Regions from separate parts of the Homo sapiens genome. Here regions 2 and 3 are each linked to region 1. The links are contacts of gene promoters, found by promoter capture Hi-C in human tissues and cell types (Jung and others, 2019). All regions are on one chromosome and are shown on one strand. The core of a region is centred on a gene start or on the middle of the fragment in contact, and the rest is flanking DNA. Distances in the headings are between cores, read along the strand shown. Region 1 holds the start of ERCC4 (ERCC excision repair 4, endonuclease catalytic subunit). Region 2 holds the start of TNFRSF17 (TNF receptor superfamily member 17). Region 3 overlaps SHISA9 (shisa family member 9).

What was found. Contacts are between HindIII fragments. The study calls those that stand out against the background at their distance.
Region 2: the fragment with the promoter of TNFRSF17 here is called in contact with the fragment with the promoter of ERCC4 in region 1 in 1 of the 25 tissues and cell types used here (dorsolateral prefrontal cortex).
Region 3: a contact is called between a fragment that was not itself captured here and the fragment with the promoter of ERCC4 in region 1, in 1 of the 25 tissues and cell types used here (dorsolateral prefrontal cortex).

The regions. Positions count from the first base shown.
Region 1 is chr16:13,918,785-13,921,510 of GRCh38, reverse strand. It overlaps ERCC4 (ERCC excision repair 4, endonuclease catalytic subunit), which reads right to left and starts at 1,357. Exons shown (of 11, transcript NM_005236.3): 1 at 1,139-1,357. The coding sequence starts at 1,345. All of the region lies in intron 1 of LOC105371093 (a long non-coding RNA gene), which reads left to right. It overlaps LOC124903647 (a long non-coding RNA gene), which reads left to right and starts at 1,433. Exons shown (of 2, transcript XR_007065001.1): 1 at 1,433-1,832; 2 at 1,928-2,046. RefSeq lists enhancers at 904-1,113, 1,154-1,513, 1,724-1,773. The HindIII fragment of the contact is 8,609 bases long and covers 1-2,726 here.
Region 2 is chr16:11,963,812-11,966,537 of GRCh38, reverse strand. It overlaps TNFRSF17 (TNF receptor superfamily member 17), which reads right to left and starts at 1,328. Exons shown (of 3, transcript NM_001192.3): 1 at 1,084-1,328; 2 at 197-343. The coding sequence starts at 1,213. It also overlaps a transcript of NPIPB2 not described here. RefSeq lists enhancers at 1,101-1,540, 1,661-1,780. The HindIII fragment of the contact is 26,500 bases long and covers 1-2,726 here.
Region 3 is chr16:12,905,885-12,908,610 of GRCh38, reverse strand. All of the region lies in intron 1 of SHISA9 (shisa family member 9), which reads right to left. Among named protein-coding and RNA genes, the nearest start is that of SHISA9, 5.6 kb to the right of the region's middle. The HindIII fragment of the contact is 4,669 bases long and covers 1-2,726 here.

The DNA of each region.
Region 1 (2,726 bases), core at 108-2,607:
CTATGCCAAGCACTGGGGATACCTAGATGAATCAAACAGGATCCCTGCCCTCAAAGAGACTGTGGTCACTCTTCTCAGCTGACATTTTTCTCCCGGCCACCTGATATATCTAGGGGATCATCAGACTTGTCCGACCAAGCTGTGTCCCCTCTCAACACCCCTCAGACCCATGTGTAGCCCCATTCCATCTTTCTCAGTGTTCTCCATTGTCCTTAACTGTAGTTAACCTTTGCCAACATCCTCAGCGTCAAGCTCCAATCCCTTTCTGACCCTATGGCCCTCTTAACACAGCCTTGGTGAATGTCCTATTTCCTGGTCCCTCCTTTTCCCTATTGGGGTTTTTCCAGCGCCTCAGCATCTCCTTTCATGTCTCCCCATCACCCTCAGAGATCTTCCATCCTCATCACTGTTCCCTTTCAGGGACCTTCCTTCTGCCCCCAGAAACTCCCTTAATGGCCAACTTCAGGACTCTCCCGTTATTCCTATCCAGATCCTCCTTCCGACATCTCCCCCTCCCCTGCAGCGACCTCCGATCCTCTCCTACCACTCAGAGCCCCTTCACCTTTCAGTGCCCTTGCACCCATGTCAGGGACCTGCATCCTTCTGGGGACCCCTCCCATCCCTCTTAGTGTTGTCAGGGAATTGCATCCTTCTCGGGACCCCTTCCATCATTCTCACTGTGCCTGCACAGTGTCAGGGACCCGCATCCCCTGGGGACCCCTCCCATTTCTCTTAGTGTTCTTGAACTCTGGTCAAAGACTTGCATCCTTCTTGGGACCCCTCCCTTCCCTCTCAGAGTCCCCGCACAGTGTCAGGGACTGGCATTCCTCTTAGTGTTCTTCAACTCCTGCCAGGGACCTGCAGCCTTCTCGGGGCCCCTCCAATTCTTATCAGTGTCCCCGCACGGTGTGAGCGACCGGTATCCTCCTAGCGACCCCTTACATACGTCTGTGTTCCCGCAGTGTGAGGGACCTGCATCCCCCTGGGGACCCCTGCCATCCTTCTCTGTGTCATCGCGTAGTGTCAGGGGCCTGAATCCCCCTCAGAGCCCCTCCATCCCTGTCAGAGGCCTCGCATCCGCTCAGGAGGCCCTCAACACTCTCGGAGTCCCCTCACTCCCGCGCCAGCGCGGCCGCACCTCCTCGGCCGGCTGCGTGTTGAGCACCAGCACCAGGCAGGCTGGGTGGCAGTGCAGCTGGAGAAAGTGGTAGAGGAGCCGGTCCGCGCCGAGCCCGCGGGCGCACACTACTAGCCCGTCAGTGTCGAGCAGTTCCAGCACCAGCTGTCGCTCGTACTCCAGCAGCGGCGCCATGGCAATCCGTCGAGCCGGCTGCCCTGACTCCATGGAAGCTCTTCCGGGTCGCAGCCGAACGCAGCCGAAGGAAGCCGACTCCTAGTGGAGAGTAGGCCGAACTCAACCGAAGAGAGCCGAGTCCGAGAGGACGGCAGCCAGCCGAACGTAGCCGAGGAGAGCTGAGACTGAGATGATCGTGGGCCGAACGCAGCCGAAGAGGAGCCGAGGCCACGACAGGCGCGCTCTCAGAAAGCCGAAGAGAGCCGAGCCTGAGAAGGCAAGCGTTGGCCGAACTCAGCCGAAGAAGAGCCGAGTGGAGCCGAAGATTCATGGAGTCACCTGTAGGGGCTGGCGCCCCCTGTCGGTGTAGCTTGCAGATATCAGGCTCCATTCACGTCTCTTTTGAGTTTCCACATCCCCTGGCACCCTAGCCTCAAGCTGCCAAAAAGCAAGGGAAGGGGAAGTAAGCCTAAGGAGCTTAATCCCCCGACATCGACAGTTGAAAAAGTTACTGGTCAATATTCCAAATGCGCCAAGAGTTAGTAGCACCTGTTTCCTAGGGTGGTTTTTGGCCCTTCCTTTTGCGATTACTCCCCATCCTTCTTTTAATTTTTTTTTTCTTTCCCGAGACAGGATGTTGATATGTTGCCCAGGCTGGAGTGCAGTGGCTGTGGAATAAGCAGAATCATTTACTGACTTCAGACCTCTGTTTGCCTCCCAAAGACTTCAATACAATAAACTATTTTTAAAAATCCCTCCTTCCACTAGAGGGACACCTCCCGCAGTGTTTGTTCTATACCTAGAAATGCCTGATAGTTGAACTAGTAGAGGAATTGTTTTGTATAGAAACCCCCCACCTTTGTTATTAGAAAATAGAAAATACAAGTAAACAAAAATGAAAATCACTTGTTTCCATTACTTGGAAATAACCACTGTTAACATCACGAAATCTATTTTATTTAGTCCTTTTTTTTCTATCTATATACACATTCTCTCATCACACGGAGTTCTTTTACCGACACGAGATAATTAATATCCCTGATTTAAATCCCCAGCTTTGTCATTAACATTTGGCAAACCTCTGAACATGATGTTTCATATTCTTTTACAAAGTCCTTTTATATGGCTGATGAGATTTCCATTATGTGGGTGTACTTACCTAATTGCTTATTAGAGGACATTTAGTCTGTTTCTGCTTTTTCCCTTCCAGTAATATAAATAATATTTCACTAAACATCTTTGTATGTAAATTCAGCCGTGGCCTTCAGATACACGTCTAGAAATGAATAATCACTGGGATAAAGAGAAAAAAATTTGTAAGGCTTTTCATTCCATTCACATTGCCACATTGCCCTCTAGAAAGCCTATACCAATTCACATTCACACTAGCCGTTTCCAAGAGGATCTGTTCCTCTACCTCTTTACTGCTTAA
Region 2 (2,726 bases), core at 79-2,578, 2.0 Mb after region 1:
AGAAAATCTGCCAAGGTGTCAAAATCAGAATGAAGATGGCTCACCTCTACCAAGTTCATTTAATGTAACAATGTTCTAACACATTCGAAAGGGCTGTAACGAAGTGAAATAGTCAACGCTAAAAAAAGAAAAGGAACTGAAACTCACAATAGCCATCCCCTGGAAATAGATTTCAAAGATTCACCATCAAACCAACCTGTGTTTTTAAACTCGTCCTTTAATGGTTCAGAGTTTATCTTCCTTAGCAAAAACATTAGCACGAAAACTGCCAAAGAAATTATTAAGCTCAGTCCCAAACAGGTCCAGAGAATCGCATTCGTTCCTTTCACTGAATTGGTCACACCTTTATGAAAAGAACATCAGACAGATAATGAGCTGATAACATAATATTCACATACTTTATTGTTATTATTTATTTATTTATTTTGAGACAAAGTCTTGCTCTGTTGCCCAGGCTAGAGTGCAGTGGCGCGATCTCGGCTCACTGCAACCTCCACCTCCCAAGTTCAAACAATTCTCCTGCCTCAGCCTCCCGAGTAGCTGGGATTACAGACCTGTGCCACCATGCCCAGCTAATTTTTTGTATTTTTAGTAGAGACAGGGTTTCACCAGGTTGGCCAGGCTGGCCTCAAACTGCCGACCTCAGGTGATTCACCCACCTCGGCCTCCCAAAGTGCTGGGATTACAGGTGTGAGCCATCCACCGCACCCGGCTGTCATACTTGATTATTTTGCTAAAATAATGAATTATGGATTGTTTTGATAGCAAAATAATCAAGTATGGATTATTTCCATTCAATCACCTTAATTAATGAACATTGACTTTTAAATTCTAAATATCACTTAATTAGAAGAGCTGATTTTTAAAAAAAATCTATGTTGCTAATAGTGCTGAATCATATCAAGTTCAGTTCCAAATAATTACTTTGTTTCCATAAACATTAAAATCACTGCCTTGCTTCCTTTCTCTTTTTGATTCAAGAAAACTCACCATCATGCCCATTATGTTGATTCTCTGAATAAGCAGTCCATATAGACAGAATAGTTCACACCAATGAATAATCGTTCAAGCAATATTACTTACTTGCATTACAATAACGCTGACATGTTAGAGGAGGAGTATTAGAAGAACATCGAAGTTGACAAGGTATGCAAGCATGCAACAAACTGTCAAAATATTCATTTTGGGAGCACTGCCCAGCCATCTGCAACATGATCACAAAAAGAAAACAAGGGAGCTACAGAAAGAACAGCCTGGAAGGACAAGTAATATCTCTACAAGAATTCCAGAGCAAATGCAGCAAGAGCAGCTAGAATGTTGAGAACAATGAACTTCGCCTGCTTCGTGGGTTCTTACGGGGGCTGTCTGTGTCTTCGCGGCAGCTAAGGATTTGAATACCACATCTAATTCAAGTTTCTAAGTTTGAGTCTTGGATGGGGTAAGAGACAGGGTGTAAATATCAGGGCATATCACATCTGAAACAGAAACTGCTTATTTATAGAAGAAATTTCTCAGCCAGGTGACAGTTGCAAGATGCAGACAAGCCCACAGCATCAAGCCGAATGTTCAGTAACAGTTTCTGGAACATCTGTTAATAAGCTGTACTCTGTGAGAGGTGCCAGGGAGATAGACAAGACAAGGTCTGTGCTGTGCCCCTTAAGATCTTAACATTGAGGCCAGCTGCAGGGGTTCACACCTGTAATCCCAGGACTTTGGGAGTCAAAAGGCAAAAGGATTGCTTGAGCCCAGGAGTTCAAAATCAGCCTGGGCAACATGGCGAAACCCTGACTTTACAAAAACATTTTAAAAAGTAGTCTGGTGTAAGCTGGGCGCCGTGGCGCTCTCCTGTAATCCCAGCACTTTGGGAGGCCGAGGCAGGTGGATCACTTGAGGTCAGGAGTTCCAGAACAGCCTGGCCAACATGGTGAAACCCCGTCTCTACTAAAAATACAAAAATTAGTCAGGCATGGTGGCAGGCACCTATGATCCCAGCTACTCAGGAGGCTGAGGCAGGGAGACGTGCTTGAACCCAGGAGGCGGAGTTTGCAGTAAGCCAAGATCAGGCCACTGCGCTCCAGCCTGGGTGACAAAGCAAGACTCTATCTCAAAAAAAAAAAAAATTCTACAGGAAGATCAGAGGTGATGCACTAAGGAAGACGCACAATGCCACTGACAGAAAAAGAGACATTTAGGGTAAGAGCTCGTGGAAAGAGGGCTGAGAGGAAGATAGGTTTGGGGTATTATAATAATAATACAATAATCTATGTTCCATTGTTGAAAATTTAGAAATACAGATGAGCAGATAAAACCATTTTAAAAATCCACAGTCCAAGCATCCAGAAGTCATCACCGCTAACACCTGGTGTATCCCAGAAGTTGCAAACAGACCTGCCGATGCGATGTCTTTTGTTTCACCGATCCCTGAATTCTAGATAGATACATTTATATAGTGCATTTTTCTGTTTACATAAATGGATCACTTGAATTTGCCTTTTTTTTTTTTTTTGACAGAGTCTCACTCTGTCTCCCAGGCTGAGTGCAGTGACACAATCACAGCTCACTGCAGCCTCCACCTCCTGGGTTCAGGTGATCTGCCCACCTCAGCCTTCCAAGTAGCTGGGACTACAGACATGCGCCAGCACGCCTGGTAAGTTTTGTATTTTTTGTAGAGATGGGTTTTTGCCGTGTTGCCCAGGTTGCTCTCAAACACTTGGGGTCAAGTGATC
Region 3 (2,726 bases), core at 129-2,628, 1.0 Mb after region 1:
TGCAGCCTAGCGGCCAAGGATCCGTGCACTCAGACTGTCCAGGTTTGAAGTCCGACACTCCACTCTCCAGGGGCAGGTTCGTCCTCTTGGAAAGAAATCTGTGCCTCCATAAACAGCAGATTGTCATAGAGCCTACCTCATGGGGGAAGGGTATGAAATTAAACGAGAATTTACACATAAGCTTATGGCAAAATTGCAAAACCAACAAGGATTTTTCAACACCACTTAGGCCAACACTTTGCAATGTATTTAACGTAGTCACATATAGACCCTCCCTCCTATTCTGCACCTGCCAGCCCCTCCCACTCAGATTCAAATGCAAGTCCAGAGAGGTTAGGAGACTTGGTCAATGTCACACAGTTAAATAAATATAGCAGAGCAAGGGTTAGTAACCGAGATCCAGATGACAACATAATTCTCTTCAGTAGACAAGAGGTAAAAAATGTCAATAATAAGGATGATGATAAAAGGGTAATAGTTGTGACAGGTCCTGAGCTCATTGTTTTCCAAGCCCTGTCTCAGTGAATCCTCCACCTGCAGACAACAGCCTGAGACTCAGAGAGGTGAAGCAACCTTCCCAAGGTCACACAGCTATTAAGTGGCTGAGCTGAGATTGAATCTCAGGCCATCTGACTGGAGTCTGCGCTATGCAGAGCAACTTGACTGACTCTCTAGAGGCTGCAGTTAACATAACAGAGTGAATTGGGTGGAGGTGGTGACTGAGATGAACCCAAGAGCTTCCTGAAGGGGGCAGTCATCACTTAGTGGCAACCAATAGCTGCTGCGTGAAAATGCAGATCCAATGTCACCAGACCCACTGAGTTCTCATGAGAAATCAGGAATCTGGATTCCTGCGTGAAATCTCCCAGTTTGTAAATGTTGGCAACTGAGTCTCAGCTGGTTTTAAAACACCACGCATAATAGAGACTAAAGAGATTTCACAGCCAAATACAATGAGCTGGGTCCCGATGTGCAAAACCAAGCTCTGAAAGACCTGTTTTTGTGCGAGTGAGAAATTTTTAAATGACTGGATGTCTGATGATATTACGGGATTTTTGCTCTTTTTCCTGGGTGTGATAATGGAATTGTGCTGTGTAGGAAAATGTCCTTGCTCTCAGGAAAGCCCCCTGCTGAGATATTAGGGACTAAGTGTCATGTCTGCAACTTATTTTCACATGTTTCAGCCAAGAAAGAAAGAAGAAAGGGAGGGAGGGGAAGAGGGAAGGAAGAAAATGAGGAAGGGAAGAAGATGAGAAGAGGGGAGGGGAAGGAAGGAAAGAGAAGGGAGAAAAGGGAAGGGAGGAAGGAAAAAAGAAGCAAAGAAGGGAGGAAGGGAAGAAGACAGAAGGAAGAAGGGTAGGAAGGGAAGAGAGGAAAGAAAGGAGGAAGGAAGCAAGGAAGGGAGGGAGGGAGGGACGGAGGGAGGGAAGGGTGGAAGGGGGATGGAGGGAAGGAGGGAGGGAGGGAGGGAAAGGAAGAAAAGAAGAAAGGAAGAGAGGAAGGAAGGAAATAAGGAAGGAAGGAAAAAACAAAGGAGGAAGGGAGGGAGGGAAGGAGGGAAGGGGGAAGGGGGATGGAGGGAAGGAGAAGGGAAAGAAAAAAATATGGAAAGAGTGTGTGAGCAATAAAGCAACTATGACAAAATACTAATAATTGTTCAATCTAAGTTAGTGGTTCTCAACTGGGGCCAGTTTTGCCCTTTGCCCTTAGATGACATTTTTCACTGTCAAAACTGGGGTGTGGAGTGTGTGCTACCAGCATCAGTGGGCAGAGACCAGAGACGCCGCCAAATATCTTGCCATGCACAGGACAGCCCCGTACAACGCAGGATTCTCCAGTCAATAGTGCCAAGGTTGAGAAATCCTCATCTAGATAAAGGATATAGTGAAGTTATGTTATGATTTTTCAAGGTTTTTTTGTATGTTTAAAACTTCTCACAACACAAAATTGAGGAAAACTTAAAAATAAAAACACCTAAGTAGAAATACCTTGCAGATCAAGCAAAGCATGACTACATGGTTTGGTATCCATAGCTGGCTGCCATGTGCAGTCATTTATTCTAATAAATAGTGACTGACTGTGGCTGCTCTTGCAGCTGCTCAATGGGCATTTGTTCGGTTCTTACGAGATCCCATGCGAGCCTCCCCCCACCGCTTCCTGGAATTGCTGTCTTTCTCCTTTTCTCAGCCCTAATTAGCCCAGAAGCAAGCAGGCCACAGGCCCAGGACTCTGAACCTGCAAACTGGTATCTTGGAGGCCTCTGCAGCAAAACCCAAGTTTACTGGTCACTAGGGGCAAAGTTTATAATGGGGGTGCGACAACATACTTTATGTCTTTCAAGAGAATATGCTTTCAGTCTGGATGAGAACAAACCCCCATTCAGGGTCCCTTGCAGCTCCAGACAAAAATTAAGAGGCTGTGACTGGCAGGTTAATTTCACCTGGAAGCTGCCTGTGACTGGCAGGTTAATTTCACCTGGAAGCTGCTTTGTGTCATAGCAGCCTCTCTGATGCCAAGCTTGGCAAGTTGACACCCACTGGAGCAACCCTTGGCACAATCCGGCAAAGGCTACTGGGTCAGTTGCCATAGCTGGGACTCCAAGTGATTAACTGCGTAAGCAGCCCAGGATGCATTTGGCAGGTACCTGGGGTAGCCCCAGCACCACAGAAAAGTTACATACGTTGAGAAACAAGCAACAGAATACAAATACGGTCAGGCACAGTGGC